Regions from separate parts of the Homo sapiens genome. Here region 2 is linked to region 1. The links are contacts of gene promoters, found by promoter capture Hi-C in blood cells and fetal thymus (Javierre and others, 2016). All regions are on one chromosome and are shown on one strand. Each heading gives the region's core, a stretch centred on a gene start or on the middle of the fragment in contact. The rest is flanking DNA. Distances are from core to core; before and after follow the strand shown.

Evidence for each region. The method cuts DNA at HindIII sites, captures the fragments that hold promoters and counts their contacts. A CHiCAGO score of 5 or more calls a contact.
Region 2: a contact is called between a fragment that was not itself captured here and the fragment with the promoter of NDUFAF4 in region 1, in 1 of 17 cell types (endothelial precursors). The highest score is 5.2, in endothelial precursors.

Annotation. Positions count from the first base shown.
Region 1 is chr6:96,896,584-96,899,346 of GRCh38, reverse strand. It overlaps NDUFAF4 (NADH:ubiquinone oxidoreductase complex assembly factor 4), which reads left to right and starts at 1,456. Exons shown (of 3, transcript NM_014165.4): 1 at 1,456-1,681; 2 at 2,500-2,603. The coding sequence starts at 1,546. It also overlaps a transcript of KLHL32 not described here. RefSeq lists an enhancer at 1,534-1,633. The HindIII fragment of the contact is 8,617 bases long and covers 1-2,763 here.
Region 2 is chr6:97,437,621-97,440,604 of GRCh38, reverse strand. The region is part of intron 1 of LOC101927314 (a long non-coding RNA gene); the gene reads right to left. Among named protein-coding and RNA genes, the nearest start is that of MMS22L, 160 kb to the right of the region's middle. The HindIII fragment of the contact is 2,278 bases long and covers 342-2,619 here.

The DNA.
Region 1 (2,763 bases), core at 207-2,706:
CTTAGCACCCATAGAAATAGAAATACCGTGCCTAAAAAGCCCTGAATCACAAGCATGCTTAAAAGTATCAAAGATAGAAATCTTGGAGCAGCCTGCCACCTTCAGGATAACTTCCCAGTTAATGCTATCTGAGATCACTGATTTCAGCTTCTATAAATTCCAAATACCAATCCCTGTAAAAATGTTCAGTATAATTAAATAAAGGGCATTTAAATTAGAGTGGCTGAAGCCGTCTTCCTTGCAGTGCTTTTGCTCTGATTAAGCATTATACTTAATGATTACATTAGTTTTCTTTTTAAAAAACTTTCCCTTTCTTCATTTTGGTTCTTTGATTCTTGTTTTATTATTATTATTCTATTCGATTATCTTTACATCAATATTTTCTTACTTTAAGCTGGTTAAAAACATCCACTCTACTTCATTTTGCTAAGCAGAGATCAGAACACTAAAAATAGATTTTGCAGCCACAGTAAGAGAAATACTGTAACTTCCTTCCTACTGCTTCCTTCCTGGTGGGTTTTATTTTAGATTAATAACAATATTTCTAAAGGGTCTTAAATAAAAGCAGCACTACAGTAACCCATTCAGGAAATGGAGAGAGACGGAGAAGGTGAATGTAACACTCGTTTTTTTGTTTGTTTGTTTTTTTTTTCTGACGTCTTATTGTCTGTTCCTTTCATTAAATTACACAGAGGCTTAAAAAGAATGAAGAAGGCAAGAGAGAAGAGAAATAGGAGAGGGAATGACTCAGCATTTAGTAGCATGGAGAAGTAAATTAGTAGCAAAAATAAGATAAGGGAAAGTATAACTAAAATCGATACCATTAGGTCAAATGAGAACGGGATGTAAAAAATAATGGAAAAAGAATACAGTGGCTTGAAAATGCATCAGGCGGGGGGACAGGAAAATAAGAGGCATTTAAATGAGAGCGGCTGAGAACAAATACTCATCGAAAGGGAACATCCTTTCATTATTTTCCTTTCACAAAAGCAGGAAAGGGCAACTTGAGAGCCCAGTTTGACCCTGGTTCAGTAAGTTCCATTTTTATCGGCTAACTCTTTGGTGGCATTGCCCTGTGAAACAACTTCAAGGTCAACTTCCTTACGACTTTGATTTTCAGCTCTTCACTGAAACTTTGGAATCACGTGGAGTCTTATCCAATGCTGGGCCTCACTCCACAAGAATTAAATCAGAAAGTCTGGGGTAGGGCCCGGCACAGAACTTTACAGAGCTTCCCGGGTGACTCCCTCGGAGTTCCAGCGTTAAAAGCAACCGTGGGTCTGGGGACTTAAGCCCCGCCACCTCCCGCCGGAAGCGGCCCTCGTGGGAGCCGTCACTCGCCCCGAAGGGAGGGGCTCCCTTTTAAATGCCCTGGGCAGAGAAGCGGTGTGTGGCCTCCCGAGCGCTAGGGGGCGACGGGCACGCATTTAAGCGCCCGCGGCGGGGCTTCCCCTCACTTGTGCGCATGCTCCGGGTGTCCCGGAGTTGTCCTGCGCCGGTGTTCCCACGTGCGGCCTGAACCTGAGCGCATAATGTTATGAGGAGATGGGAGCACTAGTGATTCGCGGTATCAGGAATTTCAACCTAGAGAACCGAGCGGAACGGGAAATCAGCAAGATGAAGCCCTCTGTCGCTCCCAGACACCCCTCTACCAACAGCCTCCTGCGAGAGCAGATTAGTCGTGAGTGGTGCGAGGGCGTTTCGGGGCCCGGGGGCGCGGAGTCCCTGTGCTGCCCGGCTGTCCCTAGCGTGGGTCCGGAGGCCGAGGGATCGGCGTCAGCCTGCTCGGCCGCAGCCGCTCGGGTTGGCGGAGCGTTGGAAGGGGGAGCCGCCAGGCCGGTGACATTGAGACTGTCCTCCGCGCCCGCGGTGAGGTCGGCGGCCCCGCCTACTTCCGAGACCCAGAGGCAGCAGCCAGTGCTCCCGCTAACCAGGCCCTCGCCGGCTGCTGTCACGGACTTGATACAGGGAATCAAAATCCGAGAGGGTCACAGAGCTTTCTCTAGGGGTCTTCACTGGACGATGGACGCAGAGCCTGACCTGGAATTTTGATTTCCATCTAAAGTATTTTCCTAACAGTCCAAATGATTATGTTTATTTTTTAAAAAAATTAAAGTGGTTAGGCCGGGCGCGGTAGCTCAAGCCTGTAATCTCAGCACTTTGGGAGGCCGAGGCGGGCAGATCACCTGAGGTCAGGAGTTCGAGACCAGCCTGGCCAACATGGCTAAACCCCGTCTCTACAAACAATGCAAAAATTAGCCGGGCGTGGTGGCGCGCCTGTAGCCTCAGCTTGTCGGGAGGCTGAGGTGGGAGAATCTCTCGAACCCGGGAGGCGGAGGTTGCAGGGAGCCGAGATCGCGCGACTGCACTCCAGTCTGGGCAACAGAGCGAGACTCCGACTCAAAAAAGAAAATAAAAGAAAGCGTTTGTGTTAAGCGTTTAGGATATTACAGGAAATTTTCCTTGATTTTAATATTGTGACTTTTTTCCTTTCCTTAGTCTATCCAGAAGTTAAAGGAGAGATTGCTCGTAAAGATGAAAAGCTGCTGTCGTTTCTAAAAGATGTGTATGTTGATTCCAAAGATCCTGTGTCTTCCTTGCAGGTAAATGTGTGTTTAATTAAGTGAATACACAATTTACTTATTTTGGGGCTTCAGGAAAATGATTAAGTGTGGCAAGTAGTAAAAAGAGTGCTCTGCAAGTGTGTGTTGTGATCAATCTACACGCCTTGGCAAAGTTTAAGCACACTGGTGTAAGACAGCA
Region 2 (2,984 bases), core at 231-2,730, 540 kb before region 1:
TATATTTTGTGTTAAGAGGAACATTGCTGTTAGGAAGAGGAGGTAAATTGACAATATATAAAATTATCAAGTGATTTGATAAATCATTAAAAGTTTCAGCTAGTTTTCTTAGGGAGTGCACACATAGAAAAGTATACAGCCTCAAGAATCACACTTTTTGAATTAAATACATAGTGAGATTTTAAATAATTGTCAACGTTCCTGGAGTAACATTTTCTCATTATGATTTATTATTATTATTATTATTATTTTGCTTAGGATAAACAGTTCATAGATAATTAGTTTATGCAATATTGAAGGACGTGTCTCTTTTAAATAATTCCTAGGGATTCTCAGAAGCTTCAAAATACAGCCTAGCACCATCTCCTTTAGTTGTGGACCATCTAAAGGTCTGTACCTCAGTTTTATCAGCTATTAGTGGACTGCCTCTACAAATCTCACTCTTTAAAAAATGAAAAATGCATAAAAAACATGCTGAAGAACACTAAAGCTACCACAGTTTGCGATATCGCAATTAAGTGAAGTCTATATCTTTGGTATAATCTATAAGCACTTATAAGTGAAAATGGATTTCCTCATAGAAAAATTTAATACACATCTCCTTGTTCTAGTTTACCATAAACGTAGTCATCAACTCAACAGCCACTGACTAAAATCTCACATTGTGTTCAGCAACGAGGCATATTAAGTGGCAGAAGATATGGTCCTTGCAGTCAATGATTTGCAGGCTTTGAAGAGTGGTATGTATGTAAAAAAATGTTAAATGACATAAGTCAATAGTCAGTCAAGCACTCAATTGAGCATGTGGTATAGTTGCATCTGATATGAGAGAATCAAATGCTGATATTGGAATGATCCTGAATTGCCATTTCTCACTGGTGTTTTACTTTCATTTGGATCACCTATTCCAGTCTCTTAACAACAACAATAACAAAATACAGAACTTGAAAATAATATTTTCTTGTGGCAGGAATATAAAACTCAAGAATGTTGAAAGGAATGCTTCATAAAATTAGCTATACTAAAGGAAACATTATATATATGTGTGTATATATAGACATACATATATATTCCAAATCCCTGATCTAGCAATTTTTAACCTCAATAAAAAGGACTATTTCTATTCAGTAGTAACCAGAGATTTTGATTGAGTTATGCCTCCTAGAGGAAAAAATTATGAGAAACCTGGATATAAAACATTGATTTCTTTATGGTCCAGAAAAAATGTATTTAAGGGAATTTTAAGGTACATATGAGTTAAAAACTATTTATAATATTTCCTCTCTCATTCAGCAAATTTTGGATTTCCAATGTATATTCCAGAAGTCACATTCTCTAAATGAGTAAATAATACAGGCGCGACTTTTTTAAAAAGTGCCTTGTTGTACCTAAGTGCACTGCAGGACATCTGGCACATTTCATTCTGAAATGATGTTTATCCACAGAAATGCCATCAGTGGAAGATGTATTGAAAAGCTGAAGGTCTATTAAGGGAGTATGGGACAGCTGCATACATTCTGTAATCTGTATAAGGCCATGGAAATGACACAGCAATACCCCATCTGTGGCTTTGGTTTACAGAGCTTTGAATAAAAATTCAAGATCAAACTTCACTTGTTACAGAAAAGAAGAATGCTAAAAGAAAGCTGGTATTAATGGGCTCAAATATAAAGGTCTGTTACTGTTACCTTTCTCCTTAATATAAAATATTTTATGGAATTTCTACACCTTCAATAAATACTAATATTATATATTCACCCCTTAATGTTATTTGAAAAACTGCTTGTGGAGAACTACAGTTTGCACTTTTATAATTTAGGCCATTTGTGAATAGGCTTAAAACTTGCAGAAGTGCTAGGACGGAGTAGGGCAGATGTTCAAACTTCCCTATTTGGGCCTGCCAAGTCCTTCATTCTGGACCTACAATACCCCAGCCAATTCAAAACTCAATGTCTCTTAATAGAGATTACTAATCAAGCTGATTTATGTGGTAGTTTAGGAGGTGGGGTCATTCTTTTTTTAGTGGTGTTGTTTCTAAAGAAAGTTTAATGCTCACAAAAGCCTCAGATTGACAGCTCCACAAAATGGAAATTCACAGAACAGAAGTATCACATGCTAGGGGGATACAGCCACCCCTTATGCTAACCTGCCAATTCACAATTTCAACCTGCAAGGATCTGCCACCGAATTCAAGAGATTAATTCAGTCCCTGTGCCCGTTCAATCCTTTGCCAATAAGGAGGCCAATTAGTTTCAACTACACTGGTTAGTTTACTTCTGCCTTTATTTTTTTCTAACGGGGGCATTTTCTCTCCATCATTTGGATGATTTTGACCCCCAATTCATTTCAGGTTACTATGAAATGGCTGTCAATCACTTGAAACCAAAGCCTAATGTGACCCAAGGCCTGAGGTGAAAAGTTCAGTCATTAGATATTGAAACCATCCAGCTCTCTACTGTGGTGAGTTTCATACAGCTCACAGGAAAACAACAATGAAATTCATAATATTAATAAGTTCAAACTCATATTGTAAATCTCTATTTAAAAATGACAGTCAACTAATTAACACGTTTAGCTGGCCTCAGTTAACTTCCAGTCTAAAAATGTCAATTGGAAGCTTTCATTAACTCATATATATATTTCTTTTGTGCATTCATAAAATAAATATATCTCAGAAAAGTTATATTTTTGTCAAGAATTAAAATATTCACCATATTGAATTATGACTTAAATTTCATTTTAGCCTTATATTCCTAGAAAATAAAGTCTCAGTAATGCTATAAAAGTGCAATGTTACCAAAAAAAGGTAAAGATACTTCTGAGATTTTTTTAATTTAGCAAATGAAAATATTCGATGCAAATATGGTGCTACTAACACCTGAACTCCGAAGGATAGTAGAGAGATGAAAGAATAAACAAATAAATTGAAGAATAATATATTCTTAGTAGGGAGTAAATGTGTAGGATTTTTTTTCCAAAAGCAG